Regions from separate parts of the Homo sapiens genome. Here regions 1, 2 and 3 are each linked to region 4. Evidence: promoter capture Hi-C in 16 types of primary human blood cells and fetal thymus (Javierre and others, 2016). All regions are on one chromosome and are shown on one strand. Each heading gives the region's core, a stretch centred on a gene start or on the middle of the fragment in contact. The rest is flanking DNA. Distances are from core to core; before and after follow the strand shown.

What was found. Contacts are between HindIII fragments. The CHiCAGO score rates a contact against its expected background, and 5 or more counts as called.
Region 1: a contact is called between the fragment with the promoter of KNL1 here and the fragment with the promoter of OIP5 in region 4, in 6 of 17 cell types (fetal thymus, erythroblasts, total B cells and 3 more). The highest score is 9.1, in fetal thymus.
Region 2: the fragment with the promoter of RMDN3 here is called in contact with the fragment with the promoter of OIP5 in region 4 in 2 of 17 cell types (erythroblasts and fetal thymus); the score reaches 8.1 in erythroblasts.
Region 3: a contact is called between a fragment that was not itself captured here and the fragment with the promoter of OIP5 in region 4, in 2 of 17 cell types (total CD8 T cells and fetal thymus). The highest score is 5.3, in total CD8 T cells.

The regions. Positions count from the first base shown.
Region 1 is chr15:40,592,175-40,595,599 of GRCh38, reverse strand. KNL1 (kinetochore scaffold 1) reads right to left here and starts at 1,351. Exons shown (of 26, transcript NM_144508.5): 1 at 1,208-1,351. It overlaps TRS-GCT4-2 (tRNA-Ser (anticodon GCT) 4-2), which reads left to right and starts at 1,694; the gene lies at 1,694-1,775. RefSeq lists enhancers at 872-1,191, 1,412-1,631 and a silencer at 1,752-1,801. The HindIII fragment of the contact is 4,787 bases long and covers 816-3,425 here.
Region 2 is chr15:40,753,784-40,756,877 of GRCh38, reverse strand. RMDN3 (regulator of microtubule dynamics 3) reads left to right here and starts at 1,624. Exons shown (of 13, transcript NM_018145.3): 1 at 1,624-1,795; 2 at 2,088-2,281. The coding sequence starts at 2,095. RefSeq lists enhancers at 1,164-1,273, 1,364-1,483, 1,694-1,903 and a silencer at 2,019-2,233. The HindIII fragment of the contact is 1,997 bases long and covers 414-2,410 here.
Region 3 is chr15:40,564,582-40,567,782 of GRCh38, reverse strand. CCDC32 (coiled-coil domain containing 32) reads left to right here and starts at 2,741. Exons shown (of 4, transcript NM_001080792.4): 1 at 2,741-2,807. RefSeq lists a silencer at 387-566 and enhancers at 1,519-1,813, 2,293-2,342. The HindIII fragment of the contact is 1,999 bases long and covers 312-2,310 here.
Region 4 is chr15:41,331,118-41,334,100 of GRCh38, reverse strand. It overlaps OIP5 (Opa interacting protein 5), which reads left to right and starts at 1,510. Exons shown (of 5, transcript NM_007280.2): 1 at 1,510-1,861; 2 at 2,120-2,186. The coding sequence starts at 1,540. It overlaps NUSAP1 (nucleolar and spindle associated protein 1), which reads right to left and starts at 1,220. Exons shown (of 11, transcript NM_016359.5): 1 at 1,051-1,220. The coding sequence starts at 1,143. RefSeq lists an enhancer at 1,497-1,756. The HindIII fragment of the contact is 1,308 bases long and covers 325-1,632 here.

The DNA of each region.
Region 1 (3,425 bases), core at 102-2,601, 740 kb after region 4:
TATTATTTAACATCGAACACATCATTAATACTACCATTCCAAACATTTTAATTCAATTTACATGTATTTATCATCTTGTAAAGATTTCCAGCCATTCGCAAAGTCAAGAATTATACTGCTTTGACCCTAACCTTTAATTACCAAAATTTTACCACATATTAACTCCCATCTGTAAATCATCTCTCCAACCAACGTCCACCTCAAATGCGGTCTTCTCCACAAATCCATCACCAAAAGCATCAAATAAGCTCTCCCTTTTCCGTGCTCCCACACCACTTTAGAATGTCCTATAATCTTTTACATTCTGTCTTGTATTCTAGTTATTTGTGTATATTAGTTATTTCCCTTTGTAAACCCCTCTAGGTTTGGGAATCATCTGTCCCCGGCCCTATCACAGGATAAGGAACCCAATAAATATCTACAGGATTCGACGGAAGTGAAAACATCAATTTTAATATCTAGACTGGAATAAGCTTCTGCTTTGGTCTTCATCCACATCCTTTATCTGTTAATGCCTATTAAACCTATCTGTAAAATTCCAATCGGCAATACTTTTTCCTCCCTCAAACTTGAGTATTTAAATAAACGTGAAGAATAAGGGCTTAAATCCTGAGGAATAATGAACAGAAGAGGATTTTTAAAAACTAATTTGCGCAGTACTAATATTGACTTCATTTGTTAAGGTTATTATACTTGCAGAAAACGAAAAATCTGTTACGTGCGGCCAGCACTCCGAGCAGACACCTTAAACCACGAAGAGCTGAGAATTTTAAAATCACTCATTGCTGTCACTTCATTTAGAGCCAAAAAAAGCTTAAGTGAGAAATACAAACAGCCGAGAGGTCCCTAGGGAAGAGCGGCAGGGGTGCAAGAAGAGTCCGCGAGCCCTGACAGAGGACGGCAGGGCGGGGCGGAAGAGGACGCCAAGAGAGCGACGGACAAGCAACCCGAGCCGGGTGGCCGGAGGGGCCGAGGTGCAGGCGGAGAAGTGTTAGGGAAGCGGGAGGCGGCACAACGTACAGGCCGAGGAGGGGAAAAAGGGCACAGTGTGCCCGGCCCGGGGCAGGGGCGTCTACTCGGCCCGGCGCTAACGGAGGCCGCCAGGCTGAGGGAGCGTACCCTACCTCCCACCGCAGGAACTTCAGGGCGCCCAGACAAAACCCGAAGCCTTCCCTGAAGCCCAGAACGAAAGAGTCATTCTCTTTACCTGCCGCGGCAAACCTCCTCGACAAATTTTGCGCAGACTTGTTTGGGGTCCACACGCTCTGAGTTTCCTTAGAGCGGAAACAGACAGCCGCCTCTAGCAGTCCGCTCACAACGCCCGGCTCGCCTCAGTGAAGTATTCAAATCTAACCGCCTAGGTGATGCGCACGCGCAAAGCGGCTCTACGCGTCGGCTCCGCCCCTTAGGTTCCAGACCAACCCTATTTCTAAGACTCCTTTAGGGAAACTACTTTCCCAGACTCCGTGCCAATTTTATTTCCTTCAGCTTTATCTCTTTTTCGACCGAATTTCCTCTGCCCCTCCCCAGTGGAGACCTCCCCCACAATCGTGGGAGCGGCCATCTTCTTTCGATTGCTTGCTATGGAAGTGATTGGACTTTGGCTTCCGTACAAAATGGCGGCTTCCATAACATTGCGTCACAGCCCCTTGATATTACTCCCTATAGCAATCAGGAAACAGTAACTTACCGGGACGAGGTGGCCGAGTGGTTAAGGCGATGGACTGCTAATCCATTGTGCTCTGCACGCGTGGGTTCGAATCCCATCCTCGTCGATGTGGTGGCTTACTTTTGCTTGTAACCAAAGTAAATTTGCAGAGCAGAATAAATTTTTTAATAACCAAAGTAAATTTGCAGAGCAGAATAAATTTTTTAATAACCAAAGTAAATTTGCAGAGCGGAAAAACTTGAATACTTATTATTTATTACTCAATTAATCTGGCACCATCAGTTTCAGGCCTGAAATGTTGAAATACAGTATTTGGAACGTTCTGACATCACAGATAAAGAAAAGGGAGGGAAAGAGACTTTCCAGGAATCAGAAATCATGCTGGATTTAATTTCTTTTTATATGGAGTTAACAACAGTGAATAGAATTCCACAATTATTACCATCCCATATGTTCCAATGCTGCTCTGTTCCAACTTTAACACAGCTCCTAACTGAGGAGTTTCAATTATTGTAGACTGTTACTCTGGGGTTTTTAACACCTGTCCTGATTATGAGATACCAGGTTTCACTTCAAAAGCTACCATGAGACACTTTATCCGGTATTTATTATCTACAGGCACCACATGTTTTACATGAATTACATCACTATAACCCTTGATCATGACAAATATTTTTATTACTCCATTTTACAGATGAGGAGACTGAAAGATTAGCTTGCCCGAGGTTATACAGCTTCTAAATTGAAGAAAGGAGAGTGTAACCCAAATCTACTAGACGCTGGCTTAATCACCCTTCTAATCTGTGCTGTAGATTAATAATTAGTATTTATCAATCCTACACTGTGCTGTAGATTAATAATCAGTATTTATCAATCTTTTGCAGTCATGGTTTACAGATTGTCTCCTCCACAAGGCTGTCTGCATTGCACCATGCTCCACAACACGGCCTCTGGCAGGTGCTTCAGCAAGGTTTGGGCACTGAGTATGGAAAGCAGTGGCCCCATTCTCTGCTGGCTCCAGTGGCTTCTTTCTGTTACAGATCCAAATCCGTTGGGAATGTTGATACCTCCTTGGGCTCAGGACATTGAGTCACCCTTCCTTAGCCTTGCTCTCCAATGCATTCTCTACCCTGCTGCTAGGAAGGGTTTCTGCTGGGTTCCACGCATTTCCAAGGGGTCCATGGATAGAATTCAGTGGGTTATTTGGTTCAGAAAAAGATTTCATCCTTATTTCCACACTCCCTAATTGAAAGCACATCCTTCAATAACGGTAAGCAACTAACTACAGTAATATTAACCTTATCCATTATTTTGTCACCAATAGAAATCACAGATATTTTTATATCAGATTACTGTTATTGCTTTACGCTCATTGCTACTTCAAAATTGTGGTAATTTTTAGACCTGCTATTATGTCTTGTAATGTTATGCATTCATAAAGAAGTGCATGCATTAAGCTGGGCGCGGTGGCTCACACCTGTAATCCCAGCTCTTTGGAAGGCTGAGGTGGGTGGATCATTTGAGGTCAGGAGTTCAAGACCAGCCTGGCCAACATGGTGAAACCCCATCTGTACTAAAAATACAAAAATTACCCGGGCGTGGTGGCACGTGCCTGTAGTCCCAGCTACCGGGGAGGCCGAGGCAGGAGAACTGCTTGAACCCGGGAGGTGAAGGTTGCAGTGAGCCAAAATCATGCCACTGCATTCCAGCCTGGGCGACAGAGCAAGACTCCATTTCAAAAAAAAAAAAAAAAGTG
Region 2 (3,094 bases), core at 375-2,874, 580 kb after region 4:
GAGTGGGCAGTCCAGTGGTGTAGACAGAGTAGAAAGCAAATAATCACAGAACAGAGTGTAATGGGTCTGGTGCGGTGGCTCACGCCTGTAATCCCAGCACTTTGGGAGACTGAGGCAAGCAGATTACTTGAGGTGAGGAGTTCGAGACCAGCCTGACCAACATGTAGAAATCCGGTATCTACTGAAAATACAAAAAGTAGCCAGGCGTGGGGGTGCAAGCCTGTAATTCCAGCTACTCCGGAGGCTGAGGCAGGAGAATTGCTTGAACCCAGGGGCGGGGGAGGAGGTTGCAGTGAGCCGAGATCGCACCACTGCATTCCAGCATGGGCGAAAAGAGCGAAACTCCGTCTAAAAAAAAAAAAAAAGTATAATGGAGGCAATAGAGCCACAGGAGCAAAGCAGGGTGAAAAGCTTAATTTCACCAAGGTGGTGATCTGGGAAGGTTTCCAGAGGAAATTTTTATTTCCTCCAAAATAAAGTGTATATATATATATATACTTTATATATATATAAATATATTTTTTGTTGTTGTTGTTTTTGTTTATTTGTTTTGAGAGGAGGCCTCACTCTGTTGCCCAAGCTGGAGTACAGTGGCGAGATCTCGGCTCACTGCAACCTCTGCCTCCTGGGTTCAAGCAATTCTCCTGCCTCAGCCTCCCGAGTAGCTGGGATTACAGGCGTGCACCACCATGCCCAGCTAATTTTTGTACTTTTAGTAGAGACGGAGTTTCGCCAGGTTGGCCTGGGTGGCCTCGATATCCTGACTTCTGTTGCCCAGAGTGATCATGGCTCACTGCAGCCTCGACGACCTGGGCTCAAGTGATCCTCCCATCTCAGCCCCCAGAGTATCTGTGACTACAGTCACGTGCCACCACGGCCGGCCTCCTGTATTCTTATATGTATACAATATCTCACAATTAAAGGGTAAATAAATATAAGATCTAGTCAAGGGTATTGGGAGGACTGGCCTAGATATTTCTTTCACTAAACTAAATTTTAACTCTTAAGAAATGTTCACAATAAAATTGTTATCATAGTCCATAAAATCGGTCTTTTTAGTTGCCACAATTATAAGAAGTTGCATACAATTACAAGAGTAAAACAGAATTATAAGACAGCACGTTAGGTTTAAGATTTATGGCCGGGTGCGGCGGCTCACGCACTTTGGGAGCCCGAGGCGGGCGGATCGCACTTTGAGAGACCAGGAGAGCGGGACCCAGTCTCTACAAAATAAAAATAAAAATAAAATGTGGGGAGAGCGTGACGTTTTCCAGGTACAGAGGGGAGGTCCAGGCAGAAGCGCAGGTAGAAAGTGTGAATATGCTGAGCGTATTCCGGGAGCAGCAAGTTAAGCCGGTGTGACCGGAGGGAAATGGAGGCCTGGCTGCCGGACGGTGAGGGTGACTGCGCGAGCGTCCGCCCAAGAAGTCTCCCTGCCTTCCCGCCTTTCCCCTGTCTTGGGCCCCTTCTTGCTTTCCTTTCGCGCTCTGTGCTGACTCCGCCCCTCCGGCGGCGCCCGTGGCCCCGCCCCTGAGGGAAACAGACAAGGGGCGGGGCCGGCGCGGTCATCTCTCTGCGCCTTCCCGCAGGGCGCCGAGCACCTGGCGCCGCCTGCCTGACGTCACGGTCACTGACAGCGTGAGCCCGCGGCGGCTGCTGCCATGGTGGCTGGCGGCCGGGTAAGGGTCTGAGTGGATCTCCTGCCAGGCCAGAGCGCCTTCGGGGGCCGCGGCGGAAGGCCAGGAGTTTGCAGCCAGGGCGCCGGGTTTGTGGTCTGCAGTGTCGTGAGGCTGAGGTGGGGGTTGAAGGCCCAGAAGCCGGACTCTGTGACCCGGGTCGGGGGGTGTACTGGAGGGGCGGCTACGTCCAGGCTGGGTGAGAAGAGAGGCAGTGGGGCCCAGGAGGCTGGAGGAAGCCTTAGGGTTCAGACTGGGGTGCACGTAGTCGAGAGCTCAGGGTTTGGGCAAGGGGATACCTGCCGGGGTTCAGCCTTGAGGGTGGGTTTACCGGGTTCACGAATCTCTCTCTCTCCTTACCCCCGCCCGCCCGCCCGCCTGCCTGCTCCCGGTGACTTCTGCTGGCCGCAGGTGCAGCATGTCTAGACTGGGAGCCCTGGGTGGTGCCCGTGCCGGGCTGGGACTGTTGCTGGGTACCGCCGCCGGCCTTGGATTCCTGTGCCTCCTTTACAGCCAGCGATGGAAACGGACCCAGCGTCATGGCCGCAGCCAGAGCCTGCCCAACTCCCTGGACTATACGCAGACTTCAGATCCCGGACGCCACGGTAGGAGCCCGTCTCCTGAGACCGCGGTCACTGCAGACTAATGGGCCTGAGGTCTGGGCTGCTTTCGGTGGAGACTGTGGGACAGGGTAACGGAGAGAAGTGCTTTAGGGTTTCACTTTTTTGGAAGCTTGTTGAAAAAGCAGTCGTCGGGCTGGGCGCGGTGGCTCACGCCTGTAATCCCAGCACTTTGGGAGGCCGAGGCGGGCGGATCACCTGAGGTCAGGAGTTCAAGACCAGCCTGGCCAACGTTCAACCAGATGTCAACATGGTGAAACCCCATCTCTACTAAAAATACAAAAATTAGCCGGGCGTGGTGGCGCGGCCTGTAGTCCCAGCTACTGGGGAGGCTGAGGCACGAGAATCGCTTGAACCTGGTAGGCGGAGGCCGCAGTGAGCTGAGGTTGCGCCACTGCACTCCAGCCTGGGTGACAGAGTGGGACTCTGTCTCAAAAAAAAAAAAAAAAAAAAAGCAGTCGTGGTTTTCTCTACTCTTTCGCCTGTACTCACAAGAAAGTATATTTCAAAAAGACTGTTTAACTTTCACTTTTAGTTCTGGCCACAATAGTGCTATGTGGGTATTAAAGGCACTTGCTTAGTGTTGGGTGAGGTGTGTAATAAGTAGAGGAAGAGTCCAAAAGAGGGCAAAAAGAATAATCTTGTAGGGATTAAAAGTCTTGAGGCTTATGTATTAAATCATATATTAGAATTTGAAGACAACTTGGCAACTATCAAGACAACTTGGCAACTATCTCATTCAAGTTTTTTTTTCTTTTTATCCCTCCTATGAGGAAACCAAGATTCAAAAAGATGGTA
Region 3 (3,201 bases), core at 62-2,561, 770 kb after region 4:
TATGTTAGAACCAAACTACTTCACAGGAGGGACATCATCTCTCAAGTGCATCATTTCATTAAGATATTTACAGTGAAAGCAGAACCTTATCCAAAAGAAAAGTATGTATTCTTAGCTAGCCTCTTTGCTCCATAGGATTGGGGTGGGAGAATTAAATTAGTTAATTCAAGTAAAATACTTGGACTAGTGCCTGGCAAAACTGTGGAGACAGAAAACATAGCAGAATCTTGTTCCTCCTCCCCTTCTGACCTACTAAATGAGAATCTGCACTTTAACATGATCCTCAGGTGATTTTTCTGCATATTAAAGCTTGAGAAGCACTGGCATAGACCATGTAGAGTAGACATTTGTCATATTCTGTAAACATCCAGCATCTTCCGAACACCCTTCTTTTGGGTGGGGAATTTCTCACATTTCATTACTGCCCCCAAAAGGTAGAAGCCAGAGCCTTCCCACACTCTCTTGCAGCTTGGACATAGGCATTTGACCTGGGCTCTATCTCTTAGACAGAGGCTTTGGTTCAGAGGCACACAGCCGCGGAAGCAGGCTCAGTGTGAAATCCGTGTCTAACAAGGTAGCATTGGAGGCATCTAATCTGGGAGGCCAACAGTCGGGGAGGTTCTTGTGTCAAGTACCCAATCGACGAATAATGCCAGCTATAGATGTTCAGTGGCTGTGGGGTGTTCCCTGAGCAGTCTCTCAGTGAGATTCAGATACTGTCCCTGGCTGTATAGACCTAAAGCCTGACTCTCCACTCACCTTGAGGTTCTGTGAACTATGTAATATTCTCCAATCCTGTGCTATACAATAGGATCACCATTAGCCATGTGCTGTACAATAGCCACATGTGGCTAATTAAATTTAAATTAATTAAAATTTTAACAAGTTTTGAAACAAGATCTCACTCCCATCACCCAGGCTGGAGTGCAGTGGCACGATTTTGGCTCACTGCAGCCTTGACTTCCCAAACTGAAGTGATCCTCCCACCTCAGGCTCCCTAGTAGCTGAGACGACAGACATGTGCCACCATGACTGGCTAATTTTTTGTATTTTTAGTAGAGACGAGGTTTTGCCACATTGCCTAGGGTGGTCTCAAACTGGGCTCAAACAATCCATCCACCTTGGCCTCCCAAAGTGTTAGGATTACAGGCCGGATGTGGTGGCGCAACCTCCGCCTCCTGGGTTCAAGTAGTTCTCCTACCTCAGCCTCCTGAGTAGCTGGGATTACAGGCATGCGCCTCCACGCCCAGTTAATTTTTGTATTTTTAGTAGAAACAGGGTTTCACCATGTTGGCCAGGCTGGTCTCGAACTGCTGATCTCAGGTGATCCACACCCCCTCAGCCTCCCAAAATTCTGGGATTACAGGCATGAGCCACCAAGCCCGGCCAGGAACTGAATTTTAAATTGTATTTTAGCTGGGCGCAGTGGCTCACATCTGTAATCCTAAAACTATGTTGTTTTTGTTGTTGTTGTTTTCTTTTTCTTTCTTTCTTTTTTTTTTTGAGACGGAGTCTTGCTCTGTCACCCAGGCTGGAGTGAGAACTATTTCCTCAGCCAAGTTACTTGGCTACTGATGGTTGGCTGATGTCTTTCATCACGTGTTTCTTGGGAGAGAGTAACTGGTGTTGATCCTGGAAGCTGGGGATGGGGAGGGGTCGATCTCAATGAACAAGCTGGTATCTATCCCCTGAAGGATATCAAAGGTCATCTCCTTTAACAACTACAACAACAAAGCATTCTGACACACACTTCTTATGACCACTCTCTCCTTTATGTACTCTGGCCACACTTCCATCATATACTCTATAATCCTCAACGCCCCCCTCCTTTTTTTTTTTTGAGACAGTCTTGCTCTGTTGCCCAGGTTGGAATGCAGTGGTGCGATCTTGTCTCACTGCAACCTCTGCCTTCCCGGTTCAAGCGATTCTCCTGCCTGAGCCTCCCGAATAGCTAGGATTCCAGGCATGTGCCACCATGCTCAGCTAATTTTTGTACTTTTAGTAGAGACAGAGTTTCACCATGTTTCACCCAGGCTGGTCTCGAACTCCTGACCTCAGGTGATCCACCTGCCTCGGCCTCCTAGAGTACTGGGATTACAGGCGTGAGTCACCGCGCCCGGCTGTCTATCACTGTTTACTGTTATTTGTAAACTTTTATGCCTCCATGGCGGACCCCCTTCCTACACTACTAAGCTGTAAGGATCTCCAGGACTTATATCAAGTCATATGTGTCTTAACTTCACGCTTAACACAATGCTTAGAACACAGCAGGTGCTTGGTATCTATTGACTAAATGAATGAAGGAAAGCTTCATAATTTGATGAATGAGACACGAGTCTCCTGGGAGAGTAAGGAAAGAAGCCGCCGAAGTGCTCTAATTTGGGTAACGAAGGGGTGAAATTTTTAGAAGACAAACACCGACAGAGAAAGTTGTGGAGGAGGTGAACTGGCTCCGGCGACTAGGAAAAGTCAAAAGTCTTGGAAACGACTTCCCTATCCAAGCAGGGACTGGAACCCTGGATCTGCAAGGAATCAACCTGGCCCTCGGGAGGGGAGGGGCAATGCTCAGGGCACGTGACTCCACCGTTTCCCGGCAACCAGAGCCCCGTCCACCGCTCGCCTCTTGCTGCTCCTCACTTCTTCACCACGCTGAGCTCCTCTCGACCAATCGACGCACAGAACATCGTCGGGTGGGAAGGTAGTTGGAGGACTCCTGGGCTCCGTCACTAGGGGACTCCGCCCCTCCCGATTTCCTCCGGGCTACAGGCGACAGAGCTGAGCCAAGCGTTTACTGGGCAGCTGTTACGGTAAGTGAGGAGGGGCTGGGGTGCCCAGCGTTTTGGATCTCCCACTCTGGCCCGGCCCCGGAATACCACATAGAGGCCTTGGGACCTGATTCATCCCGTCCAGACAGCCCTAGAGACCTGAGCGACTGAGGCCTGGGATCTGGACGCCGGAATTTCCTGCGTGGTTCTGGACGCCCTGCCCTGGGGTAAGGGGCCATGCGGGGCTCTGGTGTGAGCAAAGTTTTGGTTTTGGGTGGCTTTAGACGAATTCGGGTTGGGGGTTCACTGTAGCGCTAGACATCAGTTCACCCAGGACCGCCGTGTCATAGCTGTCCCTTTTACTTCCGGCCTTTACGCTGGCTGGGCTCTGTCTCCTGGCATTATTCAGACCTTGCCTCAGGCAGCCTTCCTGATT
Region 4 (2,983 bases), core at 261-2,760:
ATTGTGACGATTGATTTAAGCATTTACTCACTGTCAGTATCACAGCCTGCAGGAGAAACCTCCAGAGTATATAGCAGTATTATGTGGGAAGTCTCAACTATTAACAAAATATATAAAACCGCTATCCTACATTAAATCCCCAAATCTTCTTCTAACATCTTGGGTTTTTTGTTTGTTTTTGTTTTGTTTGAGACTGAGTCTCTCTCTGTCACCGAAGTTGGAGTGCAGTGGTGCGATCTTGGCTCACTGCCACCTCGGCTTCCCAGGTTCAAGCGATTCTTCTGCCTCAGCCTCCCAAGTAGCTGGGATCACAGGCAAAAAGCTTGGATCACAGGCGTGTGCCACCACGCCCGGCTAATTTTTTAAGGGCCAGGCTGGTCTCGAACTCCTGACCTCAGGTGATCCGCCTGCCTCGACCTCCCAAAGTGCTGGGATTACAGGCGTGAGCCACAGCGCCGGGCCAACTCTCCAAACATCTTGTAGCCTCGGAGTCAAAGACCTTACTGGTTTTGATAGAGACCATCAACCCAACAGTCATCAATAAAAATTTACCCAAGGAGGTGCTCCCCTAAAAGTCGATTTTTTTTTTCTGACAGGTCCATCAATAAAGTATCAAGAGATTATCGGCAATATTACAAATCACTGGAGTCTGTTTGGGGTTTTCCAGAAGCTGAGCCAATTATTTACTTAATTGTCTAACGATTAACGACACCCCTTGTGCTTTCTGGGCCTGAGTTTCGTAATCGACGCCCTGAGAGGTATACAGTAATTTCAAAACAAAACAAAACAAAAAACAATAAACCATCCCTCGGAATAGAGCTTATCATGTGAGCACCCAGACAAGCCAGCTTCAAAATGAGGTGAAAACTACAGTTCCTCTTCCGTTTATCAGAGTTCTAACTGGGACTACCGTGAACCACATCTACTGCCCGAGGGGCAGGGAGAGCTGCCTCAGTCCCGGGCTTCCCTCTCGGTCCCTTCGCACCGCATCTCCCCGAGGCCGCTATTCCCGCCGCGCCCGCCCAGGGACCCGCACCGCCAGCGCCGTACCCTCAGGTTGGCCCGGAGACCCAGACTCTTGGCTAAGTTCTGCAGGTCACTGTACTTGAGGGAGTCCAGCTCCTCTAGAGAGGGGATGATCATCGCGATTCGAAATCCCGGCGATACTCGGAAGATGGATCACCAAACTTCGTCAGCGCGGTTCAAATCCCTGGCGCCACTCTTAACTTTGACTAGGCAGAAATTTATAGACAGTTTAAATGAAGAATGCCGCGCTTCCATTGGTTGAAAATGCCTCAAAGGCGGGGTTTCTAACCCTGACCAATAGAAAGGCTGATTTCCCGTCCCAACAGAGGCGCGCTTTTTTCACACTTCACGAATACGCAGGCGCCAAAGGGCCTGTAACGCCTGTTCAGGTAACGAGTGCGCGGACTCGGACTCCAGTGCTTGGATTGCCCATGATGTCCAATGAGGACGCAGGAGCTGTGCTTGGGGCGGGGCCTGGCGTGTATTCGAAAGGAAGGCGCCGGCTGCGGGAAGATGGCGGCTCAGCCGCTGCGGCATCGCTCACGTTGTGCAACGCCGCCCCGGGGGGACTTTTGTGGTGGCACTGAGAGGGCGATTGACCAAGCTTCTTTTACGACCTCCATGGAGTGGGATACGCAGGTGGTGAAGGGGTCCTCGCCGCTCGGCCCCGCAGGGCTGGGGGCTGAGGAGCCAGCCGCCGGCCCGCAGCTGCCGTCTTGGCTGCAGCCTGAGAGGTGCGCTGTGTTCCAGTGCGCACAGTGTCACGCAGTGCTCGCCGACTCGGTGCACCTCGCCTGGGACCTGTCGCGGTCCCTCGGGGCCGTGGTCTTCTCCAGTGAGTGCAGTGAAGCGTTCGGGAAAGGCAGAGGCTAGCCCGAGAGGGTGTTCCCGCTTTCTCCACCGGGTGGCGGAGAACCACCTGGGGAAGAAAACGGGATGAAAAGTTGGAAGCAAATAACTCCTTGGCCTGGGGATGGGGCAGGGAATCGGGGAGTCTCCTGATATTTACGGCCAGGATGAGTCTGTCTAGAGGAGAGATTTTCCATTTCAAGGCCCGCAGAGTATGGGTTCTGACCCGTGTTTGTCTTCCTAGGAGTTACAAATAACGTCGTTTTGGAAGCGCCCTTCCTAGTTGGCATTGAAGGTTCACTCAAAGGCAGGTACGTATTGATAATTACATTGGTCTCTAGTCCCTGACTTTATGAGACTGAGGATCGTGGAACTGACATGTACGAGGAGAAAACAGTTTGGGATGCTGCTTTTACCTGTTTGACTCTTATATGAACTTGATGTATTAATGAAATGAAAAAGTTGTATTTGTGTATTGGTTTTAGGATCTTCCTGAGGGCCACTTCTCCCAGGTGGCTTGTACAAGTGAAGTGAGGCTAAGAAAGATGTATCTAGTAGTGGACAAAAGAAAAAAATAACCTTTTGGTTTACAGTGAGAATAACATACTATAAACTACAATCCTTTTAGATATTAGAACTTTTTGATACAGGGTCTTGCTCTCGCCCAGGCTGGAGTGCACTGGTGCGCTCATAGCTCACTACAGCCCCTACCTTCCTGGCTCAAGCTATCCTCCCAACCTCACCCTCCGGAGTAGCTGGGACTACAGGCACACAGCACCACTCCCGGCTAATTTTTAAATTTTTTGTAGAGGCCTTAGTATGTTGCCCACGCTTGATATTAGAACTTTTAAGTTTGCGATTATGGTTAGTTTGTAATAAGCTATGCCAGGGCTAATTCTTCAGTAACCCCAGAAACTGGAGAAAAACACAACTAGAATGTTATGTACTTGAATACTGCCTGGTAAACTTTGCGACCTGCCTGTACTATGATTTACAAGTGACAATAAAGTAGTCAGTGAATTTGGTATTGCAAGGCTCCTCAATTTTGAGTTTTGGCTTTAACATTGAGACAATTCATTTCATTCTGACCAGTTTGATTCAACGTTAC